4 separate regions of the Homo sapiens genome follow, and all the other regions are linked to region 1. The links are contacts of gene promoters, found by promoter capture Hi-C in human tissues and cell types (Jung and others, 2019). All regions are on one chromosome and are shown on one strand. Each heading gives the region's core, a stretch centred on a gene start or on the middle of the fragment in contact. The rest is flanking DNA. Distances are from core to core; before and after follow the strand shown. Region 1 holds the start of RNF135 (ring finger protein 135). Region 2 overlaps NF1 (neurofibromin 1). Region 3 overlaps NF1 (neurofibromin 1). Region 4 overlaps NF1 (neurofibromin 1).

Region 1 (7,692 bases), core at 439-2,938:
ATAAAGTTCTGACACATGCTACAACATGAATGAACTTTGAAAACACTATGCTAAGTGAAAGAAACCAGGCACAAAGGGACAAACATTGAACGATTCCAGTTATATGAAATATCTAGAACAGGCAAACTCAGATACAGAAAGTAGCTTAGATGTGAGCAGGGGCTAGAGGGAGGAGAAATGAGGAGTTACTGCTTAATGAGTACAAAGTTTCTGTTTATGATGATGAAACAGTTTTGGAAACAGAAGTGATAGTTGCACAACAGGAAATGTAACTAATTTGTCACTGAATTGTACACTTAAAAATGGTTAAAATAGGCGGGGCGCGGTGGCTCACACCTGTAATCCCAGCACTTTAGGAAGCCGAGGCGGGCAGATCACGAGGTCAGAAGATCGAGACCATCCTGGCTAACAACGGTGAAACCCCGTCCCTATTTTTTAAAAAAAGAAAAAAACATACAAAAAATTAGCCAGGCGTGGTGGCGGGCGCCTGTAGTCCCAGTTACTCGGGAGGCTGAGGCAGGAGAATGGCGTGAACCCGGGAGGCGGAGCTTGCAGTGAGACAAGATGGCGCCACTGCACTCCAGCCTGGGCCACAAAGCAAAACTCCGTCTCAAAAAAATAAAAGGTTAAAATGAGGCCAGGCGCTGTGGCTCATGACTGTAATCCCAGCACTTTGGGAGGCCGAGGCGGACGGATCATCTGTGGTCAAGAGTTTGAGACTAGCCTGGCTAACATGTCGAAACCCCGTCTCTACTAAAAATACCAAAATTAGCCGGGCGTGATGGCGCACGCCTGTAATCCCAGCTACTCTCGAGCCTGAAGCAAGAGAATCACTCGACCCTGGGGGGCGGAGGTTGCAGTGAGCCGAGATCACGCACGCCATTGCACTCCATCCAGCCTGGGCGACAGAGCGAGACTCCGTCTCAAAGAAATAAAGAAAAAGGTTAAAATGGCCAGTTTTAATGTTATATAGATCTTACCACAATTTTACAAGTTTCAGAGAAAGAGACCGAAGATCGATTGGGAAGAAGTTGAAATATGCCAAGCTGTGTAACAGCTAAGTTGACAAGCTTTCGGAAGATGGGGAATTTGTTTTTTTCTACTTCTTCATACTTTTATGAACTTTCCAAAGTGCCTCCGAAGAGCGGAACTCGACTTTTAGACTGAGAAAAGGAACGTAAAAGTAGAACGGCTGAGGAAAGGGGTTCGAGCCACATGGGAAAGGGTCAGGCGGCGGGCAGCCCGGGGGAGCCAGGGGAGCTGCGGGCCCGGCCTCCCTACCCGCTGCAGTTCCGGGCGGCGCCGGGGCCTCGCGGCCGCGCTGGAGAGGGAACTGGAGCCCGGGCAGGGGCAGTGGGCAGGGTCGGAGCCCGCCTGTATCTCGCGTGCGGCGCGGCGGTACTTGTCGGCCAGGTCCTGCAGTAGCGTGTTCTTCCGCAGGTGCGGCTGCTGCGCGGCGCCCTGGCGGCAAGTGGGGCAGGCCCAGCGGCGGGCGTCGCGGGCGCCCCACAGGGCCTCCAGGCAGTGGCGGCAGAAGCTGTGGCCGCAGGGCAGCGTGGCGGGCCAGTCCAGCAGCCCCTGGCAGATGATGCAGCCGAGGTCGTCCTCGGCCAGCCACACGGGAACGGCGGAGCCCAGGCCCAGGCCCGCCATGGCCAACAGGCGGCCGGGGCGCGGACGTCGGGGTTGAGCCGGGCGAGTCTCCTCAGGCTCCTCCCTCGCCCTTCCTCTTCCCCTTGCCCTCCTCCTTTTCTCGGCCGCCTTTTCTCCTCCTTCCTTGGCGCCACCCCGTCTCCTTCCTCCGATCCTGCTGAAAACAGACTTAGAGCCTCCAGTGCCCAGCTGGAAAGACAGAGCTGACCTTCAGTGGCGGCCTCTTGCCCTGGGAAACCAACATGCCGCGAGCTGCTAGAAACCCGCGGAGGTCTCCAAGATTCCCTTTAGCTGGATGTCCCTCCATTAAGATGCAGCACCGTTGGATGTCTTCGTCCGTTGGCTTAAAAAAAAATAAACAACAAAAAAGATGCAACACCGACAACTCTTGGGAGGAGAGGACTCCATTCAGCAGCTTATTTATGAGAATGAGCCCACGAAGTGTCATCCAGCTCCTCTAACAAGTAGCAGGGGATTAAAGATCACCGATGCACAGCCACAGGGAGCGTCCTCAAAAATGCTGATGTTCGGCCCCGCTCGCAGGGAGTCTGATTTCATTGTCTTGGGTGGAGCACGGGTATTTTGTAAAACCTCCCCCAGGTGATTCTGACGCGCATTCAAGGTTGAGTGAGCGAACCCTTGGCTTTTTAACTCGCAGGTATAATGCAGAGTTGTGCGCTGTGTCCTTACCGCCTTCTGCGGGATGTAAGCGCGTTTCCCAACAGACACTCGGACAAAATTCTAGAAAGTGTTTTCCTGAGAAGGCTCACTCACTCACTCACTTCGCATCCCAGTCCTAAACGCATTGCAACCAGAAAATGTTAGAGCTAAAAGAGCACCACGTCCTCCCAGATGACCCAAAGAGGTTAAAAAAAAAAAAAAGAGAAAAAAGAAAAACTTGCAGGCTCTCATGGTAACAATGAAGCGTCAGAGACTAAAACCCACAACTCCCCAATCTGTTGAAATGAACTAACAACGTCTCATGCTTTACTTTATCCTTTCTGGCCTGGGCTCAAAGTAGGTATCAGATAATACAAGTTTGTAGCCGACCTTTGGATCACTTGAAGTCAGGAGTTCAAGACCAGCCTGGCCAACATGGTGAACCCTCATCTCTACTGAAAATACAAAAAGAAAAGAAAAGAAAAGCCAGGCGCCCTGGCGCATGCCTGTAATCCCAGCTACTTGGGAGGCTGAGGCAGGAGAATCTCTTGAACCCGGGAGGCGGAGGTTTCAGTGAGCCAAGACTGCGCCACTGCACTCCAGCCTGGGCGACATAGGGAGACTCCGTCTCAAAAAAAAAAAAAAAAAAAAAAAGAAAAAAAAGAAAGAAAAGAAAGAAAAAAAAGCGTTTGTGGTTATTTCTAATACTGGAAGTGTCATGGAGTAGGCAGCGCTGCTCATCAACGTTTCCAGTGCTTTCCCTTTCTGGGCACATGGTAGGACTGGCACTTCCCTGACCCACTTGAAACACACAGAGGTAATATGTTACTTCCCACCAGCTTTAAAGGCGACTGAGCCGGCCATTGTATCCCTTTCTGCCAGCTGCCCCAATTATGGAGATGAAACCATCATCCGGTGACCTGGGTCACTGAGTGGCTAAGATGAGCAGACTCCCTGCCAACGCACCCTAGGATACGTAGTAAGAGGGAGAAGAAAACTAGGATGTATTCAGCTTACTGAGATTTAGTGGGTGTGTGCTGCTACAGCATAACCTAGCCTATCCTGACTGATGTATTACCTGGATCTTGTTCTAGAATCTCCGCATCGGAGTAAAATCGTAGTTTCTAAGAGCCTCTTTTTTTCTGTAAAACGGGCATGATACTAAACACTTAAACATGCTCAGATCTTCCAACTTAAAAAATGAAATCACTGGCGGGGCGTGGTGGCTTATGCCTGTAATCTCAGCACTTTGGGAGGCTGAGGCAGGTGGATTGCCTGAACTCAGGAGTTCGAGACCTGCCTGAGCAACATGGTGAAACCTTGCCTCTACAAAAAAAATACAAAAACTACCTAGACATGGTAGCGCAGGCCTGTGATCCCAGCTACTCAGGAGACTGAGGTGGGAGGATTGCTTGAGCCAGGGAGGTGGAGGCTGTAATGAGCCATGAGATCTCAGGAGGTCAAGACTGTGGTTAGCTGTGATCACACCACTTCACTCCAGCCTGGGGAAGGAGCTAGACCTAGTCTCAAAAAAATTAAAAATTAAAAAATAAAATAAAATCACCTTTGACCTGAGCCTCCCTGGAACCAGCTCTCCTCTTCTCCATTTCACAGCCAAGTTTCTGGAAAGAGTGAGTTAACCAGTAGTTTTCAAACTTTTTTCTTGGACACGCCCTAAAAGTTTTATGCAAAATCATGCAGTGGTTATAAGAAAGGGGGAAGTGGGGGCCGGGCGCAGTGGCTCACGCCTGTAATCCCAGCACTTTGGGAGGCTGAGGCGGGCGGATCATGAGGTCAGGAGATTGAGACCATTCTGGCTAACACGGTGAAACCCCGTCTCTACTAAAAAATACAAAAAAAATTAGCCGGGCGTGACGGCGGGAGCCTGTAGTCCCAGCTACTCAGGAGGCTGAGGGAGGAGAATGACCTGAACCCAGGAGGCGGAGCTTGCAGTGAGCTGAGTTCGCACCACTGCACTCCAGCCTGGGCGACAGAGCAAGACTCTGTCTCAAAAGAAAAAAAAAAAAGAAAGAAAGAAAGGGGGAAGGGGGAGAGTGGTCAGCTCTGGTAGTAAAAATATATTAGCAAATTCTTCATTTATATCAGATTTTTTTTTTTTTTGAGATGGAGTCTCACTTTGTTGCCCAGGCTGGAGTGGAGTGGAGTGGCACAATCTCGTCTCACTGCAACCTCCACCTCCCGGGTTCAAACCATTCTCCTGCCTCAGCCTCCGGAGTAGCTGAGATTACAGGCGCTCGCCACCATGCCCGGCTAATTTTGTATTTTTAGTAGAGATGGGGTTTCCCCATGTTGACAGGGTTTCTCCATGTTGGCCAGGCTTGTCTCGAACTCCTGACCTCAGGTGATCCGCCCACCTCATCCTCCCAAGTGCTAGGATTACAGAGGTGAGCCACCGCGCTCAGCCTACATCAGACATTTTGTCATTCTTGGCCGAGTGCGGTGGCTCATGCCTGTAATCCCAGGACTTTGGGAGGCCGAGGCAGGCGGATCATGAGGTCAGGAGTTCGAAAAATACAAAAAAAAATTAGCTGGGCGTAGTTGCAGGCACCTGTAATCCCAGCTACTCAGGAGGCTGAGGCAAGAGAATCATTTGAACCCGGGAGGTGAAGGTTGCCATGAGCCAAGATGGCACCATTGCACTCCAGCCTCGGCAACAGGGCAAGACTCCGTCTCAAAAAAAAAAAAAAAGAAATTTTGTCATTCTTTTATCTTTCTGAACTTGTATTTCCATTCCATTTCCTCCACAGAATTACATTCCAAAGCAATATATTTCATGCATGAAAGTCTTTTATCACTTTGTAATACTTCTCTACAACAAAAGTATGTATGTGTATTAAATTTTTAATTCTTCTTAACTTCCTGTGACAAAAAGGCTCTTGGTAAATTTTTTCCCCTGGATTTAATTATCAATATAATTACTATTAGCAGTCAAACAAAAGAAAAGTATGCTGCAATTTATAACTTTTATATAAATAAAATAACTTTTAAAGACAGTAAACATTTTATTGGAATGATAGCTATTAATAAGACAGATGGGCTCATTTCTTTCAAAAATGCATTTATGCCCAGGCACGGTGGCTCACATCTGTAATCCCAGCACTTTGAGAGGCCAAGGTGAGCGGAACACTTGAGGTCAGGAGTTTGAAACCAGCCTGGCCAACCTGGTGAAACCCTGCCTCTACCAAAAAATACAAAAATTAGCTGGGCATGGTGGCCTGAGGTCCCAGCTACTCCAGAGGCCGAGGCAGGAGAATTGCTTGAACTTAGGAGACGGAGGTTGTAGTGAGCTGAAATGGCACCACTGCACTCCAGTCTGGGCAACAGAGCAAGACTCTGTCAAAAAAAGAAGCATTTATCTATGAATGAACATTACTTAATGATAGACAAACTTTTGCAATAAATTCTATTTCTTTTATGTTTTTATGTGTGCCGAGAAATCTTGTTCACATGTATAAATAGATGACAAAATTGTCACTCATTTTGTTGAATACTTTTTGAGATATATGCAAAAAAGTCATATAGTGATAATCTCTCAATTAACAACTTGATTTGATTTTTCTTTAATTTTTGTTGAAAGCAAGAATTTGAGGTCGGGCGCGGTGGCTCACACCTGTAATCCCAGCACTTTGGGAGGCCGAGGCGTGTGGATCACGAGGTCAAGAGATCAAGACCATCCTGGCAAACACGGTGAAACCGCGTCTCTACTAAAAATACAAAAAAAAAAAAAAAATTAGCCAGGCACGGTGGCGGGCGCCTGTAGTCTCAGCTACTCGGGAGGCTGAGGCAGGAGAATGGTGTGAACCCTGGGAGGCAGAGCCTGCAGTGAGCCAAGATCGCGCCACTGCACTCCAGCCTGGGCGACAGCGAGACTCCATCTCAAAAACAAAAAAAAGAATTTGAAACACTTGTGTTACAAAAGTCGTTAGAAGTATTCACTTTAAAAATAAATAAATAAATACATAAAAATAAATAAAAAAATAAAATAAAATAAAAAAATAATAAAATAAAACTTAAAAATTAAATAAATAAATAAATAAAATAAAAATAAATTAAAAAAGATCAAATAAAAAAAGAAGTATTCACTTTCTCATTTTCTGGGTGTTATTGTAACGTGGCTGACTCCATCTTGCTGCTAGCCTCACAGGCTGGCTGTCTTCGCTCATTCCTGGGGTAGGCCAAGCTAACCGTGGAAGGAATTTAGTTTATAGTTTAAATTAGAAGCCAGGATGATAATAGTCCCTCCCTAAAACTAATCCTTTCCTTATTCAGGGGGCTGAAACCACCTTTGTAAAACCATTGAAAGGCCACAAAATTAAGTTTATGGGAGGGGCCTGAATTCTGCTGAGATGTTGACACAATTTCTATAATCCCTTACCTTCAGGAGTTATGTAGCCAGAAGTCACAAGATTTGTGGCTTCTTCAATTGCTCCTATAGATAACATCACTATTGTAGAATCTAAGATTGGTGGAGATGTTTTCCAGACTTACGCCACCAGGACTGGTGACTTGTGACTCAGTTGGCCATGTGGCCTCAACCAGAGGTGGACTCAGTTCATGAGGACGATTTTCCACACCCGTAATGACTGCATCCCCAACCAATCAGCAGCATCCATCCCCTAGTCCCCTGCCCACCAAACTGAAAAACCATAACCTCCAGCCTTTGGGGAGACTGATTTGACTGATAATTCCACTTCTCCCACATGGCCAACCTCACCTTAATGTTAATTAAACTCTTTCTTTACTGTTTTGCCTGTGCAGTGGGCAGGAAGAACCCGTTGGGTGATTACAGTATGCCAAAAAGACTTTGCCAAGGTTTAGCAAATGACTATCAATTAAAAGCAATTACACTTTAACTTAGAGACAGCTTGTTTACTGATATACTCAGAAAGGACTGGGAAAATTAGAATATTGTTTATTTTAATACACCATTGTCAATCTAATATTTTTTGGAAAGGTGCTTTTATGTTATGTATTTGAAATATATATACACACATACATATATGTATACATATATATATACATTTTTGGGTTTTTTTGTTTGTTTGTTTTGTTTTTTGAGACAGGGTCTTTGTTGCCCAGGCTGGAATGCAGTGGTGTGATCTCTGCTCACTGCAGCCTGGAGCTCCCAGGCTCAAGCCATCGCTTCAGTCCCACAAATAGCTGGGACTACAAGCACATGCCACCATGCCCTGTTATTGTATTTTTTATAGAGGCCAGGTTTTACCGTGTTGCCCAGGCTGATCTCAAACTCTCAGACTCAAGCAATTCTCCCATCTCAGCCTCCCAAAGTGCTGGGATTACAGCATGAGTCACCACGTCCAGCCCTGAAATTTTTCTATTCAAGTACATGTGTTAACA
Region 2 (7,692 bases), core at 5,105-7,604, 220 kb before region 1:
GGCTCAAGTGATCCTTCTGCCTCAGCCTCCCAAAGTGCTAGAATTACAGGCATGAGCCACCACACCTAGCCTTCAACTTTGAATTCAGCTGACCATATCTTCTTTTTGATATTTAAAGTCTAAATATTATACTTTCTTGGCTCTGGTCTATGATAAACTGTTCCACCCTTTTCTAACACTCCAGGTTATATTCAACCTTCAGCCTTCTAAATAAGAATATATTCAAGGCTGTTCTGTTGCTCTAAATTTGTTTCTCAAAAAAAATTACCTATTCTTGTGATGTCAACCCCTCTTTACAGTTCATTAACAAATGTCTTCCTTTGGCTTTTCTCCTAAATGAATGCTCAAATGTAACATGTCAAAAACTAAACTCACCCAACACCAGCACAATATATTCTTCTCAAGTGTACATGGAACATTCTCCAAAACAGACCTATGTTAGGCTACAAAATAAGTCTTAATACATTTAAAGAAACTGAAATCATACAAAGTATGTTTTGTGATCATAATGGAAATGAAAAACCAACAGCAGATAAAAAAACTAAAAAATTCACAAATATGTGAAAATTTGTGAATGTTAACTAATAGATCAAAGGAAAAAATCACAAAGGAAATTAGAAACCAACGTGAGATAAATGAAAACGAAAACACAACATACTAAAACTTATAGGATGCAGTGAATGCAGAGCTAAAAGAAAAATGTAAACCTGTAAACACTGACATCAAAAAATAAGAAAGTTCTCATTCAATAACCTAACCATATACCTCAAGGAACTAGAAAAAGAGTAAACTACACCAAAGCTAGCAGAAGAAAGAAAATAATAAAAATTAGAGTGAAAAGAGAGAACAGAAAAACAATGGAGAAAAATTACAAAACCAGAAGCTGATTCTTTGAAAAAGTCAACAAAACTCTAGCTAGATAGGTTAACAAAAAAATAAATAAATAAAAGAGAGACAGAGAGAAAGAACACCAAATTACTAAAGTCAGATATGAAAGTGGTGACACGGCCAGATGCAGTGGCTCATGCCTGTAATCCCAGCACTTTGGGAAGCCAAAGCAGGCGAATCACTTGAGGTCAGGAGTTTAAGACCAGCCTGATCAACATGGTAAAACCCCCATCTCTACTGTAAAGAAGACAAAAATTACACAGGCATGGTGGTGCATGCCTGTAGTCCCAGCTACTAGGGAAGCTGAAGCAGGAGAATCACTTGAACCCAGGAGGCAGAGGTTGCAGTGAGCCAAGATCTTGTCACTGCACTCCAGCCTGTGCGAAAGAGCAAGACTCTATCCCCCCCACCCCCTCAACAACAACAAAAAAAGTGGTGACACTACTGATTTTGCAAAAATAAAAAGAATTATGAGACGATACTATGTAAAACTGTATGCCAACAATTTGGATAACCTGGACAAAATGGACAAATTTCTACAAACACACAGTCTACCGAAACTAACTCATGAGGAAATAGAAAATCTAAATAGAACTATAACTAGTAAAGGGATTAATCAGTAATCACAAAGCTCCCAAAGAAAAGGCTAGGACCAGATAGCTTTCACTGGTTGATTCCACCCAACATTTAAAGAATGCTTCTCAAACACTTCCAGAATATTAAAGAGAAGGGAACACTTCTCTTCATTAGTTCTATGGTCCAACATTACCGATACCAAAGCCAGACAAAAATACTACAGGAAAACTACAGACTAATACACCCTAGGAATACTGATGAAAAACTCAACAAAATCAGCAGCCTATTAAAAGGATGACACACCATGACCAAGTGAAACTTACTCCAGGAGCACAAGATGATTCAACAATGAAAAAATCAATGTAATATACCACATTAATAGAATGAAGAAGAAACTCCACATGATCATCTGAATCAATACAGAGAAACCACTTGACAAAGTTCAACACCTGTTATGATAAAAAAACACTCAAGCTAGGAATAGAAGGAAATTTCCTCAACATCGTAAAAGCCATGTATTAAAAACCAATAGCTAACAACATACTCAATAGTGAAAGATTGAACGTTTTTCCCCTAAGATCAGGAACAGGATGAGGATGCCCACTTTTTCTTCTTCTATTTGGCATAATACTAGAAATTCCGGACAGAGCAAGTAGGCAAGAAAAAGATGGAAAATTCATTGAATTTGGACAGAAAGAAGCAAAACTATGTCTATTCACAGATGATATATATGTAGAAATCCCTAAAGATGACACATACACACCAAAAACAAGCTGTTAGAGCTAATAAATTCAAAGTCACAGAATACAAAATCAGCACACAAAAATCAGCTGGATTTCTATACATTAGCAATGAAAAATACAAAAAGGAAATTAAGAAAACAATTCCACTTACGATAGCATCCAAAATAAAATACATAGGAATTAATCAGGGAGGTGAAAAACTTAATAAAAAACTACAAAACATTGCTGAAAGAAATTAAACATAAATAAATGGAAAGATATCTCACGTTCCTAGATTGTTAAGGTAACAATATTACCCAAAGCAATATACAGATTCAATGCAATCCCTATCAAAATCCCAATGGTATTTTTTGCAAAAAAAAAAAAAAAAAAAGCCAGGCGCGGTGGCTCACGCCTGTAATCCCAGCACTTTGGGAGGTCGAGGCGGGCAGATCACGAGGTCAGGAGATGGAGACCATCCTGGCTAACATGGTGAAACCCCGTTTCTACTAAAAATACAAAAAAAATTAGCTGGGCATGGTGGCGGGTCCCTGTAGTCCCAGATACTTGGGAGGCTGAGGCAGTAGAATGGCGTGACCCTGGGAGGCGGAGCTTGTAGTGAGCCGAGATCGCGCCACTGTACTCCAGCCTGGGCAACAGAGCGAGACTCCATCTCAAAAAAAAAAAGGAAAAACCCATCCTAAAATTCATATGGAATCTCAAAGAGCCGCATAATAGTCAAAACTATCTTGAAAAAGAATAAAGTTGGAGAACTCACACTTTCTTATTTGAAAACTTACTACAAAGCTACAGTAATCAAAACAATGTGGTACTAGCATAAGCACAGTCATACAGACCAATGGAATAGAGAGCCTAGAAAGAAACCCTCACACATATGACCAATTTTTGACAAAGATGCTAAGACCATTCAATAGAGAAAGGATGGTCTTTTCAACAAATGATGCTAGGAAAACTGATTATCCACATGCAAAAGAATGAAGATGGACCCTTTTCTTACATCATATACAAAAATTAACTCAAAATAGATCAAAGACCAAAACTTAACAGTAAAGCTATAAAACTCCTATAAGAAAATATAGGAAAAAAAAATATTTTCAACATTGGATTTGGCAAAGATTTCTTGTATATGATACCAAAAAAGCACAGGCAACAAAAGAAAAAACAGATAAACTGGATTTCATCAAAATAAAAACTTTTGTGTATCAAACGACACTATCAAGAAGATGAAACAACAATCCACAGAGTGGGAGAAAATACTTGCAAATAATGTATCTCATAAGGGGTGAATAACCAGAATATATTAAAAATTCCTATAACTAAAAAATAAAATAAAATTTAGAGCCTTACAAATACTTTACAGTTTTTTTAAAAACTGAAAATAGATGAACCAAGCCATTGCCTCAAGAAATAACAGTATAAATAAAATGAAAGCTAAAATTAATGAAACAGAAAAATTTAAATGCTAGGAAACAAAATCAAAGCCTAGGTTTTAAAGACCAATAAAATAGTAAACGTGAATGAGGAAAGAGAAATGAGTAAACAGTTACAAACATGGATACTAAAGATAATTATATGAGAATATGGAAATATAATATAACCTTTATATAATTGTACAAAATATGTAAGTATTATATACAACTCTGCACTGATAAAACTGAAATATATATTTTCTAGCAAAGAACAAACCATCAAAAGTGACTTTAAAAACAACAGAAATTCTTCAAAAAATCAAAAATAAAATAACCATATGATCCAGAAATTACACTTCTGGATATATATTCAGAAGAATTAAAAGCAGGGTCTTGAAGTTATTTGTACACCCATGTTCACAGTAGCATTATTTATAATAGCCAAAAGGTGGAAACAACTGAAAAATCCATTGGCAGATGAATTTAGATAAATAAAATGTTGGTATATATATACAATGGAATATATCACTCAGCCTTAAAGAGGAAGGAAATCCTGACATGCTACAACATGGATGAATACTATTTCAGCCATAAAAAAAAAAGAATGAAATCCTGTCTTTCAAGGCAACATGAATGGAACTGGAGGACATTATGCTAAGTAAAATAAGCCCATGTCAAAAAGACAAATACTGTATGAGTCCACTTATATGAGGTAGTCAAATTCAGAGAGACAGAAAGTAAAAGGACGGTTGCCAGGAGTTGAGGGTAGGGAAGAACGGAGAGCTGTTTAATAGATACAGAATTTGTTTTGGAAGATGAACAGGTTTTGGAGATTGATTGCACAACGATGTGAAAGATAGTGCTACTAAACTGTATGCTTAAAAATGGCTAAGATGGTAAATTTGATGTTACGTGCATTTTACCGCATACAAAATTTTAAAGAGACAGAAAAACTACACAGATCCATAAGGGAGCTCAAATAAAAGGTGATTAATGAGTTATTTTAAATAGACAATAAACAGGCTAGTTCTAGAAAGAGCATAAGAAACCAGTAGCAGTACTTGACTTAGGAAAAAAAGTATAAACTGAAGGTCAAGAGTGAATAGGAAGCTTACTTTTCCACTGAATTCCCTTCCTGATGTACAGTGAAAATTTCCATTATGTCAATTTATTTTTTTTCTTTAAAACTAATGATAAGCAAAAGTCAAAGGAAATCCTAACCTTGATGATTTTACAATGATTTCTATCTAATCAGATAATTTCTATTATTTAAATTATTCCGGGCCATAGAAAAGACTGATAGTTCCCAAATTCACATTACTAATTTGGCACAAATAACTGTTCGAATAATTAGTTACTTTCAAAAGTGATAATGCATATTATGTTAATTATACATATTTTCTAAGCATCAGAAAGCTGAAGCACTGGAAGGAAATGTTTTATTAAGCAGCTACCCAATACATTTGCCAATAGCCAACCAAGTTTACCTCACACACACAAATGAACATACTAAAAGTAAAGATTTCCAAATATATTTCAGCTCCAAATTTAAAGTGAACATTTAAATAACATAGAAACTATCTGACTGGATACAATTCAGCTCTAAAACTAGAGTTCAGGGCCCTTTATCTTTTGTTAATTATTAATTTTAAATTTTTTGATGTATTAATATTTATGAAGAACATAGTAACATTTTCATAGCTATACAGAGATCAAATCAAGGTAATTAGCATACCCATCATCTCTTATCATTTCTTTGTGCTGGGAACATTCAACATCCTCCTCCTAGCTCTTTGAAACTTTGTAACATATTGTTAATTACAGCCATCTTACAGTGGTATACAACACTAGAACTTACTCTTCCTATCTAGTTGTAATTTTGAATCCTTTAACAAATCGTTCCCTACCCTCCCCGCACCCTATCCTTCCCAGCCTGTAGTATTCTGTTCTACTTTTTACTTCTGAGATCAACTTTTTTTTAGCTTCCACATATGAATGAGAACACTCAGTGTTTAATGTTCTGTCCCTGGCTTATTTCACTTAATATAATGTCCTCCAATTCAATCCACGTGCCTCAAAATACAGAATTTCATTCTTTTTTATGGCTGAATACTATTCCATTGTGTATATATACCATATTTTCTTTACGCATTCATCTGTTGTTAGATACTTAGGATGATTCCATATCTTGGCTATTGTGAATAGTGCTGCAATAAACATGGGAGTACAGATGTCTCTTCAATATACTGATTTCCCTTCCTTTGGATAAACGTCCAGTAATGAATTGTTGGATCACATGGTAGTTCTATTTGCAGTTTTTTGAGGAACCTTCACACTGTTCTCCATAGTGGCTGTACTAGTTTACATTCCCACTAGCCACATTTAAGAGTTCACTTATCTCCACACCTTTGCCAGCATTTGCTATTTTTTGTCTTTTTGATAGTAGCCATTCTAACCGGGGTGAGATGATATCTCACTGTGGTTTTGATTTGCATTTCCCTGATGACTAGTGATGTTGAGCTTTTTTAAAAAATATATCTGTTGGTCATGTGTCTGTCTTCTTTTAAGAAATGTCTATTCAGGTCCTTTGCCCATTTTTAAATTTTTTGTTGTTGTTTTGTTTTGTTTTGTTTTGTTTTTTGCTGTTGAGATATCAGAGTTCCTTGTATATTCTGGATATTAATCCTCTGCTGGATACATACTTTGCAAATATTTTCTCCCATCCTGTAGGTTGTCTTTTCACTCTGCCAATTGTTTCCTTTGCAATAACGTTAATTTTTTAAAGAAAAGTAACTTAAATGCTTGACAATATGGAATTTAAAATATGGTACATTCAAGCTGGGTGCGGTGGTGCATGCTTATAGTTGCAGCTATCTGAAGGCTGAGGTGGAAGAAGATCGCATAAGCCCAGAAGTTTGAGACCAGCCTGGGCAACATAATAGCAAGACTTAGTCTCTTTTTTAAAAAATGGTATATTCAATTTAGGGAACACCATACAGCAGTTAAAGACAATGACCTAGATGAACAATGGTTCTCAAACTTCAATGTGCATCACAATCACCTGAAGGACTTAATAAAAATGGCTGTTTTTAGTGAGAAACTAAGTATTTAGTTAGAAACTAAGAACTGGCATTTCTCACAAATTTCCAGGTGACGCTGATGCTGCTGGTCTAAAGACCACACTTTGAGAAACACTGAACTATATACCTATCTGTCTATCTCCCCATCCTCATAAAAATATAAAAGCTAGACTGGAAGAATATACATTTAACCCTTTGCAGTGGCTGTCCCTGGGAAAGAAAAAAAAGAAATTAGTGGGATTCGTAATTAAATCAGAATTTATGGAAGTATTACTTATTCACAATTTTTAAAAGCCATGTGAGGACTTAGCTCTGATTTTTTAACTTGCCCAAACTCCTACCTAAGGGGTCTAGGAAGTCATGCCCTACAAACCATAAATTCTCATCAGATGGGTTTTATTTGACGCTATATATCGTGACTTACTTTTCAATCTGACTCTGGCATAACATTATGAGACAAGGAAAAAATATTTAGCCCCAAAATATATTTCCTTGCCATACCTTGAAATTTGCCGTGCAAAGTCTCCTGTGGGGAAAAAACATCCACATTCTATAGAGAATCCCCTTTTCCCTTTGTTTTCCTTCTTTCCTTTCCAGATCCAGGAGATTAATCGACTAAGAGCCAGGCACTCTTTTAGGTCTAATAAGAAACATTTTACAACCTTCTCTCTCTCTGAAGTCTGCTGAGAGATTCCTCTGCACAACAAAATCTGGTCTCCACAATCCTTTATCTTAACCTGGACATTCCTTTCCATTAATCCCAAGTCTTCAGACAAACTCAACCGTCAACCAGACAACGTCTAAATTTACTTATGGCCTGGAAGCCCCCACTTTGAGTTGTCGCGCCTTTCTAAACCAAACCAATGTATTTCTTAAATGTATCTGATTGATGTTTCATGCCTTCCTAAAATATATCAAACCAAGCTGTACCCCAACCACTTTGGGCACATGTTCTCAGGAACTCCTGATGGCTGTGTCACGGGCCATGGTCACTCG
Region 3 (7,692 bases), core at 4,964-7,463, 200 kb before region 1:
CTCTCAGCATTTGCTTGTCTGTAAAGTATTTTATTTCTCCTTCGCTTATGAAGCTTAGTTTGCCTGGATATGAAATTCTGTGATGAAAATTCTTTTCTTTAAGAATGTTGAATATTGGCCCCCACTCTATTCTGGCTTGTAGGGTTTCTGCCTAGAGATCTGCTGTCAGTCTGATGGGCTTCCCTTTGTGGGTAACCCGACCTTTCTCTCTGGCTGCCCTTAATATTTTTTCCTTCATTTCAACCTTGGTGAATCTGACGATTATATGTCTTGGGGTTGCTCTTCTCGAGGATTATCTTTGTAGTGTTCTCTGTATTTCCTGAATTTGAATGTTGGCCTGCCTTGCTAGGTTGGGGAAGTTCTCCTGCTAATATCCTGAAGAGTGTTTTCCAACTTTTTCCATCCTCCCCATCACTTTCAGGTACACTAACCAAATGTAGATTTGGTCTTTTCACATAGTCCCATATTTCTTGGAGGCTTTGTTCATTTCTTTTCACTCTTTTTTCTCTAATCTTGTCTTCTCGCTTTATTTCATTGAGTTGATCTTCAATCTCTGATATCCTTTCTTCTGCTTGATTGATTTGGCTATTGATACTTGTGTATGCTTCACGAAGTTCTCATGCTGTATTTTTCAGCTCCATCAGGTCATTTATGTTCTTCTCTAAGATGGTTATTCTAGTCAGCAATTCGTCTAACCTTTTTTCCAGGTTCTTAGCTTCCTTGCATTGGGTTAGAACATGCTCTTTTAGCTTGGAGGAGTTTGTTATTACCCATCTTCTGAAGCCTACTTCTGTCAATTTGTCAAACTCATTCTTTGTCCAGTTTCGTTCCTTTGCTGGTAAGGAGTTGTGATCCTTTGGAGGAGAAGAGGCGTGCTCGTTTTTTTTTCAGCCTTTTTGCACTGGTTTCTTCCCATTTTTGTGGATTTATCTACCTTTGGTCTTTGATGTTGATGATGATACTATTCCTTTCTTAGTTTTCCTTCTAACAGGCAGAACCCTCTGCTGCAGGTCTGCTGGAGTTTGCTGGAGGTCCACTCCAGACCCTGTTTGCCAGAGTATCACCAGCAGAGGCTGCGGAACAACAAAGATTGCTGCGTGTTCCTACCTCTGGAAGCTTTGTCCCAGAGGGGCACCTGCCAGATGCCAGCCAGAGAGGACACAAACAAACGGAAAAACATTCCATGCTCATCGATAGGAAGAATCAATATCGTGAAAATGGCCGTACTGCCCAAAGCAATTTATAGATTCAATGCTATCCCCATCAAACTACCACTGACTTTCTTCACAGAATTAGAAAAAACTACTTTAAATTTCATATGAAACCAGAAAAGAGCCCGCATAACCACGACAATCCTAAGCAAAAAGAACAAAGCTGGAGGAATCACACTACCTGACTTCAAACTATACAAGGCTACAGTAACCAAAACAGCATGGTACTGGTACCAAAACAGATACATAGACCAATGGAACAGAACAGAGGCCTCAGAAATAACACCACACATCTACAACCATCTGATCTTTGACAAACCTGACAAAAACAAGCAATGGGGAAAGGATTCCCTATTTAATAAATGGTACTGGCAAAACTGGCTAGCCATATGCAGAAAACTGAAACTGGACCCTTTCCTTACACCTTATACAATAATTAACTCAAGATAGATTAAAGACTTAAACATAAGACCTAAAACCATAAAAACCCTAGAAAGAAACCTAGGCAATACCATTCAGGACATAGGCATGGGGAAAGACTTCATGACTGAAACACCAAAAGCAATGACAACAAATGCCAAAATTGACAAATGGGATCTAATTAAACTAAAGAGCTTCTGCATAGCAAAAGAAACTACCATCGGAGTGAACAGGCAACCTACAGAATGGGAGAAAATTTTTGCAATCTACCCATCTGACAAAGGGCTAATAACCAGAACCTACAAAGAACTTAAATTTACAAGAAAAACACAAACAACCCCATTAAAAAGTAGATGAAGGATATGAACAGACACTTCTCAAAAGAAGACAACAAACATATAAAGAAAAGCTCATTATCACTGGTCATTACAGAAATGCAAATCAAAACCACAATGAGATACCATCTCACGCCAGTAAGAATGGCGATCATTAAAAAGTCAGGAAAGAAAAGATGCTGGAGAGAATGTGGAGAAATAGGAACACTTTTACACTGTTGGTGGGAGTGTAAATTAGTTCAACCATTGTGGAAGACAGTGTGGCGATTCCTCAAGGATCTAGAACTAGAAATACCATTTGACCCAGCCATCCCATTACTGGGTATATACCCAAAGGATTACAAATCATTCTGCTATAAAGACACATGCACACGTATGTTTACTGCAGCACTGTTCACAACAGCAAAGACTTGGAACCAATCCAAATGCCCATCAATGATAGACTGGATAAAGAAAATGTGGCACATATACACCACAGAATACTATGCTGACATAGAAAAGGATAAGTTCCCGTCCTTTGCAGGGACATGGATGAAGCTGGAAACCATCATTTTCAGCAAACACAAGAACAGAAAACCAAACACCACATGTTCTCACTCATAAGTGGGAGATGAACCATAAGAACACATGTACACAGGGAGAGGACCATCACGCATCGGTGCCTGTCGGGGGGTGGGGGCTGAGGTAAGGGATAGCATTAGGAAAAATACCTAAGGTAGATGATGCGTTGATGGGTGCAGCAAACCACCATGGCACATGGACACCTATGTAACAAACCTGCATGTTCTACACATGTACCCCAGAACTTAAAGTATAATTAAAAAATTTGGAAAACATATACAGGGCCAGGCCCGATGGCTCACGCCTATAATCTCAGCACTTTCGAAAGCAGGAGTGGGAAGATAGCTTGAGCCCAGGATTTCAAGGCTACAGTGTACTATAATCATGTCACTGCATGCCAGCCTGAGCGACAGAGCAAGACTCTGTCCAAAAAAAAAAAAAAAAAAAAAAAGCAAAAGCACAGGTGTTTATGGGAAATTTTTAAAACCATCAATGATTCTATCATTCAGAGACAATCACAGTTAACATCTGGTGGTTTTACTTCTACCACTTTTCCTATGCATGTAGAAAACAAATATATTTAACATAACTGAGATCATATAAGCTGTATCAAACCTGTTCTTTTCCATAGTATCCCTAATTATTTCTGTATCAGTAAAAACTCTTTTTTTTTTTTTTTTTTTTTTTTTGAGATGGAGTCTTGCTCTGTCGCTCAGGCTGGAGTGCAATGGCACAATTTTGGCTCACGCAACCTCCGTCTCCCAGGTTCAAGCGATTCTCCTGCTTCAGCCTCCCCAGTAGCTGGGATTACAGGCGTGCGCCACTACACCCAGCTAATTTTTGTATTTTTAGTAGAGATGGGGTTTCACCATGTTCGTCAGGCTGGTCTCGAACTCCTGACCTCATGATCCGCCCACGTAGGCCTCCCAAAGTGCTGGGATTACAGGTGTGAGCCACTGTGCCTGGCCTATTTTTGATGGCTCTATATGCAATAGTAACTATTACACAAACTATTAAAACATATCATGTATTTTTAGTATGATACACTTAATTCTTTTTGAATCTTAATGTTTTCAGAGTATTACAGATGAACAAACTGTGTGTCTAAGGTTACAGATCTAATAAATGATTGAATTGGGCTTTAAAACCAAGGTCTTTTCAGTATGCTTTGATGCCCCTCATAATATTTAAGTCACTGTATTAAGTGACTGGTTATTTAATGTTTTCCAGTTTTAACACTGAGGTTATTTCTGTTATTTCACTATTATAAATAACATTAACAAATATTTTCATATCAACATCTTTTCCCACATCACTGCTTATTTAAGATAAGGAATCTCTAGAAGTGTCCAGTCAAAGAGATGAATATTTTTAGGGCCCTTGATAAAGATTACCAAGCTGCCTTTCACTAGGGTTGGGCCAAATGCTGCTATCACCAAGCAGCATACGAAAGTGCCTTCATCCTATCTTTGTCATCATAAAAGTATGTTCATTTTCTTTATTTTGCTAATTGGAGTGTTCAAAATAGTAGACTGCATTTTAACGCAAGTAACAGTAAACATTTCTCCATATAAATATATTGGGTATTTTAATTTCTTCTTCTTTAAGTTTATTGTCCACATCTAGAAAAAGATTTATGTTTGGAAAAAATGACCTGTCTATAAGCGATTTTACTGGCAATGGTCCCTCGGCAAAGAACTTCTCCTGTTGACTTTTAATGAAGGGATAAAGGTTTTTATTACATCTATGTAAGTGTCTAAGAGAGAGATGAGTCTTTTTTCTGGACTTGCAAATAAGTAACTCTCCAAATCAGTTTTTAAAAGTACCCCTTTGAATTCTCTTTGCTCTCACCCTCCACTGATTTCCAAATAATGACATTACTCTTCACAGTGCTCTTTAGCAACAACTTTACCTTTATGACATCTTAAATGTGTTATATACCATAATCTACTCTCAAAGCCAAAGTATCTTTCAGTTCTACAAGTTTCTTGTTGGACATCCTACTGATACCTCAAACTCAGAAGATCTAAAACTGAATTTATCATTTTCCTGGTCAAACCCTCTCTTCTGCCATCAACCTTTCCTTCCCTTTTCTGCTCTAACCAGCTTATTCTGTAATATTTGGTGATATCTCTCTAACCTCATATATCTAAATTGACTATCAAATGCTATGTATTCCATTTCTTTTTTTTTTTTTTTAGATGGAGTTTCGGTCTTGTTGTCCAAGCTGGAGTGCAATGGCGTGATCTCGGCTCACTACAACCTCCATCTCCCAGGCTCAAGCGATTCTGCTGTGCCTCGGCCACCCGAGTAGCTGGGATTATGGGCACGTGCCACCACACCCGGCTAATTTTTTGTATTTTTATTTTATTTTATTTATTTATTTAGAGACGGAGTATCACTCTGTTGCCCAGGCTGGAGTGCAGTGGCACAATCTCGGCTCACTGCAAGCTCTGCCTCCCGGGTTCATGCCATTCTCCTGCCTCAGCCTCCCAAGAAGCTGGGACTACAGGCGCCCACCACTACGACTGGCTAATTTTTTGTATTTCTAGTAGAGACAGTGTTTCACCGTGTTAGCCAGGATGGTCTCCTGACCTCGTGATCCACCTGCCTCAGCCTCCCAAAGTGCTGGGATTACAGGCGTGAGCCACCGCGCCCAGCCCATTTTTTGTATTTTTAATGGAGACGGAGTTTCCCCATGTTGGCCAGGCTGGTCTCGAACTCCTAACCTCAGTGATCCGCCCACCTTAGCCTAACAAAGTGCTGGGATTACAGGTGTGAGCCACTGCGCCCAGCCTCCACTTCTTTAAATACCTATCAAACTGGTCCCCATCCTTACCCTACCCCAATCCATCATCTGGATCTCCACAACTCTCATTATTTTTCACTTATATTACTGCATAACCAAGTCCCAGAAGTTCAGGTAACCCTCTACCAAGCCATCCTGCAAATTTCAAGCAAAGGGGTATATCTAAAATAAAATACTGATTAAGGTATTCTCTACCTCAAAGCCTTTCTATCACTTCCCAGGGCCACTAAAATAAAGCTTCGTAACTCATAAGCACAACAGTGCAGCAGTCAAGTATCTAGGTTCTAGAGACGAGCAGATGTGAACTCAATCTTTACTGAACAATTACTAGCTCTGTGACTTTGAAAATTTACTGAGGCCTCAGTTTCCTCATCTACACAAGAGATGATAATATTAATACTAGTATTGCGTCACAGGGTTATTGTAAGAATTGATGAGAAAAGGCATGCAAACTGCATAGCGCAAGGCCCGGTGCAGACTGAAAATATAACAAATGTTTCTCTCTCTCTCTCGATATATCTATCAAGATACAGATATATCTATAGACAGATCTGGATATACACATATCGATTGATATATCTATATACAGATAGGTATATCGAGAGAAAGAGAGAAAGAGAGAGAGAGAGAGAGAGACAGAGAGACAGAGAGACAGACAGAGACAGGATCTCACTCTGTTACCCAGGCTGGAATGCAGTGGCACAATCACAGCTTACTGCAACCTCAACCTCTTCCTGGGCTCAAGTGATCCTCCCACCTCAGCCTCCCAAGTAGCTGGGACTACAGGTGCGTGTCAGCACACCCAGCTAATTTTTTTTTGTATATATGGGGGTCTCTCTATGTTGCCCTGGCTCAAGCAATCCTCCTGCCTCGGCTTCCCCAAAGTGTGGGGATTACATGTGTGAGCCACCAGGCCTGGCCATATTTTTATTAAAATGATCTGACCTATTCTTGTACCTTCACATCTTGCTCATCTCTCATCCCCTCAAACAAATATATACTTCCTCTCTCACTTTACACTCACCCTATTTGAGTTTATCATAGTTTTTTTCTGCAAATAACTTGATAATGACATCACTTGTCTCATAAACCATGCCATGAGCTCCTTAGGGACAGATTCCATATTTTATTAATTTTTGTAATCCCAGCACTTAGCATGGCTTCTTATACATAGTTTCTCAACAAAGGCTTGTTGAGTTGTATTTAAAACACATTACTACCTTTACTACTCATTACTGAAAGGGTGCATTCCTTTTACCACTGTCACCAAGAGCCATATTTTGCTGGCCTATTTAATATCGGTTTTATACTTTATATATTTATCAGCATATACTCTAAATTTATGTTCATGAGGGAGCCGCATTCGATGGGAAAGTTACTTCAGTATAAAAGAAAGTCATTTATCCACACATTCAATTAGTTTCTCTTATTTGGACAGAAGAGACATTTCAGTTAATTATTACGGATTGAACATTTCTATTGTTTTAAACAGCTATTCACAGGCAACCTGGACTAGACTTGTTTCCAAAACATCACTGAATAGTTATGAAAAATCATAAAATCCCACTAATACTTCTTAACTTTAATTCATAGAGATCTCTAAATTTTACCATTCAGTTTCTCAACTGCTCAACGCTTAATAATAGATATCAAAATCTTGCAAATCTCAACTATTAATTCAATGGTGGTTTATTATAATCTAAAATAATTGCTGTCCACATGTTTGTATCTTGGCATAACAGCTAAAATCACCCCTATATTTTCCTTTATTAAAGTTACTGAATTAATTGTTGCTTGGTTTCACAATGGTAATGACCTAAAATCATAAATTATGAACAAGGGTAATATGAATAGAACACAGCTTTATATTATTCCTTTATATAGGTATTGCCTTTTTACATCTCTGGTGAGATAGTTATTGAGTTTAAAGGAAATATTAAGAAAACAAAAACACGTATTTTGAAAACTACATTGCAGAACTGATGTTTCTGAAGCTAATATAATTCAATCTGTTTTAGGTCAGATATTAAAAATATTATTGTTTGACAATTCCTTAAGTTACAAATAAAAATATGTGTGAACTGTATACGGTTTCATATCTAAATTAGCCAGGGTCTAATAATGCCAAAAACTAAAAAACATTTTTTTGTAAAATGAAATTTAGATATTCATACTCAGTTTATGAATATTCATTGATATCTGATTTACATGAATACATCACTGCTTACCACAGAATTTATCTCAATTCCTTCAGATCATACTCAGTTTATGAATACTCATTGGTATCTGATTTACATTAACACATCACTGCTTACTACAGAACATATCTCAATTCCTTCTGATCGTTTATTTCAAT
Region 4 (7,692 bases), core at 3,003-5,502, 130 kb before region 1:
TTTTATGACTGTTTACAGCTTCCTTTCATATAAGATTCATACCTAAGTCATTAAACAAGCCCATGATGTGAGAAGGGTAAGTATCATGCCCATTTTACACATGAAAATATAGAAAACTGATGTTCAGAGAGGTTAAGAGACTTCCCCAAGACCACACTGCAAGTTGCACAATCAAAAGCTTTTTCTTTTACTACATAGTAGGCTGCCCTCACAAGTCTAAAGTGGTAAAAGTTGTTTTCTCATGCCCAAACTACTATGAGAACTACCCAAGAGAAACCGTGTCAACAGAAAAGTGTCACCACTTGAGATCATTAAGAGACATAACTTCCCAAAAGGTCATTATCTGAGTATAAAATTTTGATTAAAAATAAGTTAAATAATCCTTAAAAGTTTCTAGTAGTCCTGCTATTTACTAAATTAATTTCATGCCTCTTGTGCTAGATATACCACTCTGCTGGTGGGGGTGGGACACGGGAGTTAGGTGGAGCAGGAAAGAATTTCATCAGAAAAAGTTAAGTTCTCAGCCGGGCACGGTGGCTCATGCCTGTAATCCCAGCACTTTGGGAGGCCAAGGCAGGAGGATCACCTGAGGTTGGGAGTTCAAGACTAGCCTGACCAACATGGTGAAACCCTGTCTCTACTAAAAAAACAAAATCAGCTGGGCATGGTGGCGCATGCCTGTCATCCCAGCTACTTGGGAGGCTGAGGCAGGAAAATCGCTTGAGCCTGGGAGGCAGAGGTTGCAGTGAGCCCAGATCACAACATTGCACTCCAGCCTGGGCAACAAGAGCAAAACTCCATCTCAAAAAAAAAAAGTTATCTGAAGTTCAATGGAATAAGACATTCAAAGCTATAAAATATGAATAAGGGCAGGCGACAGCTTGTGGACTGCAGTGGCAACCCTAAGCCAAACCGTGAGTGCCAGACTATGGTTTAAAGAAAATATGCAATCTGGAAGTTTGCACCTCAAGTTACTGCTACTGCAAAGTAATTAGTACCATTTATGGTAAGAATATGTAAAGTTTTAGAACATAATGCCAATTCTTCATTTTAGTAGGATGAACTCCACACTAGCTTGAGGCTTTGTCTCAACAGAAGCTTTTTGATGATATAGTCAGTGGCTCAAAAGCCACTCAGGACCCAGCACAGTAGTTCACGCCTGTAATTCCAGTGCTTTGGGAAGCCAGGTGGGAAGACTGCTTGAGGCCAAGAGTTTGAGACCAGCCTGGGCAACATAACAAGACACTGTCTCTACGAAAAAAATTAAAATAATAGCCAGGTATGGTGGCGCACGCCCATAGTCCTAGATATTCGGGAGGTGGGAGATCACTTGAGCCCAGGAGTTCGAGGCTATGGTGAGCTATGATCACACCACTGCACTCCAGCCTGAGGAACAAAGAGAGACCTCACTTCTAAAATAAATGAATAATAAACAATTTTTAAAAACCAGTTATATGCAGAGAATATAACTATATATCACAGGCATATAACATTTGAAGTGGTCAAATGGATTGCCTTTAAGAGAATTTAGCGAGGGTACTATAAACAGCAGTTATAGTTTATATCCTATAGCATTAAACACCTGAGAGTACTCTGTTTACTGAAGGCTCTACCACATAGTATGATACAGAAATTTACAACTTGCTGAGACCTTAAACTTAATTCACAGTCACTACAACGTAAAACCACTTTTCTGTCCTTCAAGATCAAAACAAATGGTCTCATCTCTCCCTTCCCGCCCCCAAGAAAATGGGGTACTTTAAAAGATGTCAGATGAAACAAGCCAATGCTTTTATAAATACAAGTCAATCCTTTGCAAAGAAACAGATTAAGATGCTCATATTCTGCTTCGGTATTGATCCCAAGCCTTTTAACAGTTTAAGCTGACCACAAATCTCCCCTTCCACTTCTATAGAATATTCTCCTCCTTAAACTTCCTTTAGAGCCTTCCGATACCTCCTGTCCCTTGACTTATATACACACACACCTCCAAAATATACGCAGACCTAAGGAACACAAGTGGAAAACACATTTTTAATTAATACGCTGCTTATCCTTAAAAGTATGTCGTTAGAATGCAACAATATAGAGTCTACATAGAACCCCAGAATACCAAATTTGAAAGCTACAACAAAAATGCCCCATAGCAATCTGAGTAATTTAAAGAACAAAGATGTAAAAAATAAGGCATTCTTACTACTGTATTATATGACTTAAACTTTTGTTTAAGGACAAAATGTTTGGTTGGGTGCAGTGGCCGGTACCCAAATAAAAAACGAAAAACAAAAATACTTTCTCCATATTAAAAAAAAAAATTTTTTTTGAGACAGGGTCTCACCCAGGCCAGAGTGCAGTGGTGCAATCATGCCTCACTGCAGCCTTAATTTCCTGGGCTCAAGCAATCCTGACTCAGCCTCCCAAGTAGCATATACTACCACACTTGGCTAATTTGTCTGTTTTTTTTCTTTTCTTTACTTTCAACCAATGCACACTGGCTGATTTTTTTTTTATTTGTTTTTTTTACTTTTTGTAGAGATGGGGTCTCACTCTGTTGCCCAGGCTGGTCTCAAACTCTGAGGCCCAAGTGATCCTCCCACCTCAGCCCCCCAAAAAGCTTGAATTATAGGCATGAGCCACCGCACCCAGCCAAAACATTTTTTAAAAGCAGACTTAAGGCCAGGTGCAGTGGCTTGCATCTGTAATCCCAGCACTTTGGGAGGCTGAGGCAGGTGTTTGAGGCCAGCCTGGCCAACATGGCAAAACCCCGTCTATAGTAAAAATACAAAAATAGGGCCAGGCACGGTGGTTCAAGCCTGTGATCCCAGCACTTTGGGAGGCTGAAGCGGGCGGATCACCTCAGGTCAGGAGTTCAAGACCAGCCTAGCCAACATGGTAAAACCCTGCCTCTACTAAAAATACAAAAAAATTAGCTGGGTGTGGTGGCACACGCCTGTAATCCCAGCTACTTGGGAGGCTGAGGCAGGAGAATCACTTGAACCCGGGAGGCAGAGGTTGCAGTGAGCCAAAATTGTACCACTACACTCCAGCCTAGGCGAGAAAGCGAGAACTTGTCTCAAAATAATAATAATAATAAAGCAGATTTGAGAAAAGAATCTAATTTCCTAATGGTTAAAAAGTCAAATAAAAAGAGTAGGGCAAAAAACAGGAACATTTAAAATAAAATGTAACAATATTAGACCAGCACCACAGCTTATGCCTATAATCCCAGCACTTTGGGAGGCTGAGGCAGGTGGATTGTTTGAGGTCAGTAGTTTGAGACCAGCTAACATGGCGAACCCTTGTCTCTTTTAAAAATACAAAAATTAGCCAGGTGTGGTAGTACGTGCCTGTAATGCCAGCTACTTGGGAGGCTGAGGCAGGAGAATCGCTTGAACCCAGAAGGTGGAGCTTGCAGTGAGCTGAGATCGTGCCACTGCACTCCAACCTGGGCAATAGAGCGAGACTCTATCTCAAAAAAAAAAAAATGAAGAAGAAGAAAAAAGAGAACTTGTCAATGGATACTAAAGTAAGGTATATATTGGCCAAGGTACATACAAAGGAATATCCAGAGACTAGTCACGCTCTCTTTTTTTTTTTTTGGAAGACAGGGTCTCACTCTGTCACCGAAGCTGGAGTACAGTGGCACAATCATGGCTCACTGTATGCTTGAACTCCTGGGTTCAAGTGATCTTCCTGCCTCAGCCTCCTGAGTAGCTGCGACTACAGGCACATGCCACCACACCCAACTAATTTTTTTTAGAGACAGCATCTCACTATGTTGCACAGCCTGGTCTTGAATTCAAGGCCTCAAGCAGTCCTCCCACATGGGCCTCCCAAAGTGCTGGGATTACAAGCATCAGCTACCGCACCTGGCCTACTCTCCCTTATTTAATGAAAACACAATAATCAGTAATAAGCTACACTGCACTCTAGCCTGAGTGACAGAGCAAGACTCTGTCACACACACAAAAAATAATAATAATAATAAGCTATAAAGAAAACATATAAATCTTATATTAGAAAAATTTTAGACTTTTCAAAGTGCTTCACATTCATATTCTATCACACCATTGCAAAATATCCTAACAGTAAGTGACAAATCCAAAATTACAAAAGTAGTTGATCAGATCTGAAACCTGATTCAAAAAACATGTTTGCTCTATGGGAGGAAATATAAATATGTATAAATTCCTTCTTTATGCTAATTTTCTTACTCATTCCTAGTTAAAATATCACTTATCAGACCTAGGCTATTGCAAACATGGAAGTAAAATTCAGTAAAACAAAGCCAAAAGTACCACTTTTTTTATTTAGCCAGTCTACCCTTCAACCAGGAATCATATGAAAAACATTCCATCAATGTTCTGTGTGTTTAAGACTGTGCTGGGCACTGGGGTGACTAGAAGAGAATTCAAATAGCGTTCTTTGCTTTTCAGAAAGTATGCACTCCATTTGATAAAAAGACAAGAAAAAAAGAAAACAAAGCCAAGCTGTGTTCAAACAATCCTCCTAAAGGAAGAAAACTTACTGTGTGGTTCTGTAAAACTCCAGGTAACAAGGATACCAAGAAGTGAGATAGCAGAGTTTAGTCTGAAACAACCTCATGGGGAAAAAAAAAAAATGAAATCTGAGCTGAACATTGAAGGATGGACAGGAATTAGAAAAGCACAAAGGAGGAATTAAAGCATTCAGGCAGAGACTGGCAGAAATAAAGGCCAAGAAGTGGGAAGAAGCATGATACACACAGAAGAGACTGAGGTGACCTGCCTGGAACATAGGTGCATGCAGAGGCATAATGGGAAAGAGTTTGGTAAATCAAGTGGGGTCAGCTCCCAATAGACTGCTGGGTCACAGAGACATGCTGTTAGAATATTAAAATCATCGAATATTTAAACTTGAAAGAATCTAAAAGATTTTCTAGCCATTTCTTTTTCAACAGATGAGGAAATCAAGGATCTATAGGAAAGCTAATGGCTAGGATAGGGACAAAGGCACTGAATAGCAGAACAAAACTAAGACCCCCGCTAAGGAACTCCAATTCAGTAGAAAAGTATTGTGTCTTGGGAACTGGAAGAGATTGGTTTCCGGGGGGAGTGGAACATCACAGTGGCATTACAACTAAGCAATGACCACTATGTTTTGCCAGAAGTAATCACTTTCAAGAAAACAGCAATCAAGCAGAGGCAGGAGCTACTTTTCAGAGTTATAAAGGAAATGGGTGGATAAACAGTAGAGGCGGTGAGTATCTGGCAACAACAACAACAAAAAAGACTGGTCCACAGAGAGAGAGCTGCAGGACCAAGTAAACGTCTGATTTCCAAGAGAAAGGAAATCTTAGCCTGAAAAGTGAAAAGAAAGCAGCCAACATAAAGACTAAATTAGTTCCCAGACAGATAAGGTGGAAAGTGTAAGGGAGTGCAGAGAACTGAGGAACAGCTGGAAGAAATCTTTCTAAAGGATGAATTCCGGGCCGGGCACGGTGGCTCATGCCTGTAATCCCAGCACTTTGGGAAGTCAAGGCAGGTGGATCACGACATCAAGAAATTCAGACCCATCCTGGCTAGCACGGTGAAACCCTGTCTCTACTAAAAATACAAAATTAGCTGGGCGTGGTGGCATGCGCCTGTAGTCCCAGCTACTTGGGAGGCTGAGGCAGGAGAATCGCTTGAACCCAGGAGGCAGACGTTGCAGTGAGCTGAGATCGCGCCACTGCACTCCAGCCTGGGCGACAGAGTGAGACTCCATCTCAAAATAAATAAATAAATAAAAATTTAAAATAACAATAATAATAAATTAAAAAATTCCGAAGCAAAGAATAAGCATTATTGTGCTCGATTCAGCACCACATATACTAAAATTGGAAGAATAAGCATTATTTCTCACTCACCATAAAGAATTCGTCACCATAAAAGAGTACTCATTTTCAACTACTATAAGGCCTTATAAAAATTACACACCAGGCTTGAAGAATGAGGCTAGGAGATATTTTTTAAATCCAAAAAGCTTCAGTTTTGCAAATCTATTTGTCTAATCAGTATGTGGTTTGTAATTTCGAAGATACTTGCCAATCATTTTATACTGTGAATCACTCACCGCATATTCAACGTACATTCAGATGAACACTCAATGTATGAGAACAACAAATATGCTACTACAACCTCTAAAATCAGAGTTTATTCCATAACATATTCTTTAAATTGGGTTTTTTGGCTTTTATGTACTACTTTTGCTTGATCAGATATGGAAAATATAATTGCTTTAAATGAACATATTTACAACAAATCATTTTGGGATGGAGTTCTTTTTAATTCTTTTTTTTTTTTTTTTAGTTCAAATATCCATAGTTTTCCCATACTTCCCTTCAGAAATAAAGCTCTACAGGAACCAGTGGGGCATACAGAACTAGGGGAGATACACAGAAGGTTCTAATTTGCTTAGAAACTGGGTTAATGAACCACAATTAAAAGCTACACATGGCCGGGCGTGGTGGCTCACGCCTGTAATCCCAGCACTTTGGGAGGCCAAGGCAGGTGGATCACCTGAAGCCAGGAGTTGGAGACCAGCCTGGCCAACACGGTGAAACCCCCGTCTCTACTAAAAATACAAAAATTAGGCAGGCGTGGTGGTGGGCGCCTGTAATCCCAGCTACTTGGGAGGCTGAGGCAGGAGAATGGCTTGAACCCAGGAGGCAGAGGTTGCAGTATGCTGAGATCTCCCCATTGCACTCCAGCCTAGGAGACAAGAGCGAAACTCTGTCTCAAAAAAAAAAAAAAAAAAGCTACACACCTACAATTTGTCAGTTTCAATTAGAAACTTGCTATTTGGCACCACGAAGGCAGGTTAAGGAGAGATGTAAGATTTAACTGATAACATTCAGCTTTCTGGCTGTCCACCTGTGCAACTGTCATTTCCCTAACCAAGGAGGTGATTACTTCTAAAATTGGTAATACTCATTCAACTTAGACCCTAAATACTAGGTTTAGCTGCAATATTATCAGGTTAAGGAATTTTATATTACCCACAAGAATGTGAGCTCAAAATGTCAATATGGCACACATCCACTTCTTTTAACTGAGTCTACTGCACTAAGTTGCTAAGCGATACCCATCAGAGTGCAATATGTCTGTAATCAGCAGTGGCTAGAAATGCATTTCTGCTTTAATCACACCGAATATTAGAAATCCAACCAAAACAGCAATCATAAACAGAGTTGCCATCTTTAGACATGCACATGCTCCCTGGGGGCGTTAAGTGGTCCAACAGGCAAACTCTTAGCTGTAATAAGAAGGAAAGCTTAACTCCCCCTGGGCCCAGTAAAGCAAAGTACAGATAATATAATCCAAAATTCAAAAGTTTTATAAACAGTTGAAACTATTAAGATTCTTTTTTTTTTTTTTTTTTTCTGAGATGGAGTCTCGCTCTGTCACCCAGGCTGGAGTGCAGTGGCGCAATCTCGGCTCACCGCAAGCTCCACCTCCCAGGTTCAGGCCATTCTCCTGCCTCAGCCTCCCAAGTAGCTGGGACTACAGGCACCCACCACCACACCCAGCTAATTTTTGTATTTTTAGTAGAGATGGGGTTTCACTGTGTTAGCCAGGATGGTCTCGATCTCCTGACCTCATGATCGGCCCGCCTCGGCCTCCCAAAGTGCTGGGATCACAGGCGTGAGCCGCCGCGCCCGGCCAACTCTTA

The links. Contacts are between HindIII fragments. The study calls those that stand out against the background at their distance.
Region 2: a contact is called between a fragment that was not itself captured here and the fragment with the promoter of RNF135 in region 1, in 1 of the 25 tissues and cell types used here (mesenchymal stem cells).
Region 3: a fragment that was not itself captured here is called in contact with the fragment with the promoter of RNF135 in region 1 in 2 of the 25 tissues and cell types used here (IMR-90 fibroblasts and lymphoblastoid cells).
Region 4: a fragment that was not itself captured here is called in contact with the fragment with the promoter of RNF135 in region 1 in 1 of the 25 tissues and cell types used here (bladder).

The regions. Positions count from the first base shown.
Region 1 is chr17:30,965,035-30,972,726 of GRCh38, reverse strand. It overlaps RNF135 (ring finger protein 135), which reads right to left and starts at 1,688. Exons shown (of 5, transcript NM_032322.4): 1 at 1,282-1,688. The coding sequence starts at 1,653. RefSeq lists enhancers at 873-1,122, 1,151-1,712, 1,813-2,062, 1,713-2,274, 2,343-2,402 and 1 more and a silencer at 1,193-1,732. The HindIII fragment of the contact is 16,210 bases long and covers 1-7,692 here.
Region 2 is chr17:31,192,233-31,199,924 of GRCh38, reverse strand. All of the region lies in intron 8 of NF1 (neurofibromin 1), which reads right to left. Among named protein-coding and RNA genes, the nearest start is that of MIR4733HG, 100 kb to the right of the region's middle. The HindIII fragment of the contact is 9,867 bases long and covers 1,421-7,692 here.
Region 3 is chr17:31,170,632-31,178,323 of GRCh38, reverse strand. All of the region lies in intron 5 of NF1 (neurofibromin 1), which reads right to left. Among named protein-coding and RNA genes, the nearest start is that of MIR4733HG, 79 kb to the right of the region's middle. The HindIII fragment of the contact is 5,735 bases long and covers 3,346-7,692 here.
Region 4 is chr17:31,098,644-31,106,335 of GRCh38, reverse strand. All of the region lies in intron 1 of NF1 (neurofibromin 1), which reads right to left. Among named protein-coding and RNA genes, the nearest start is that of MIR4733HG, 7.0 kb to the right of the region's middle. RefSeq lists a silencer at 2,492-2,673. The HindIII fragment of the contact is 4,792 bases long and covers 1,857-6,648 here.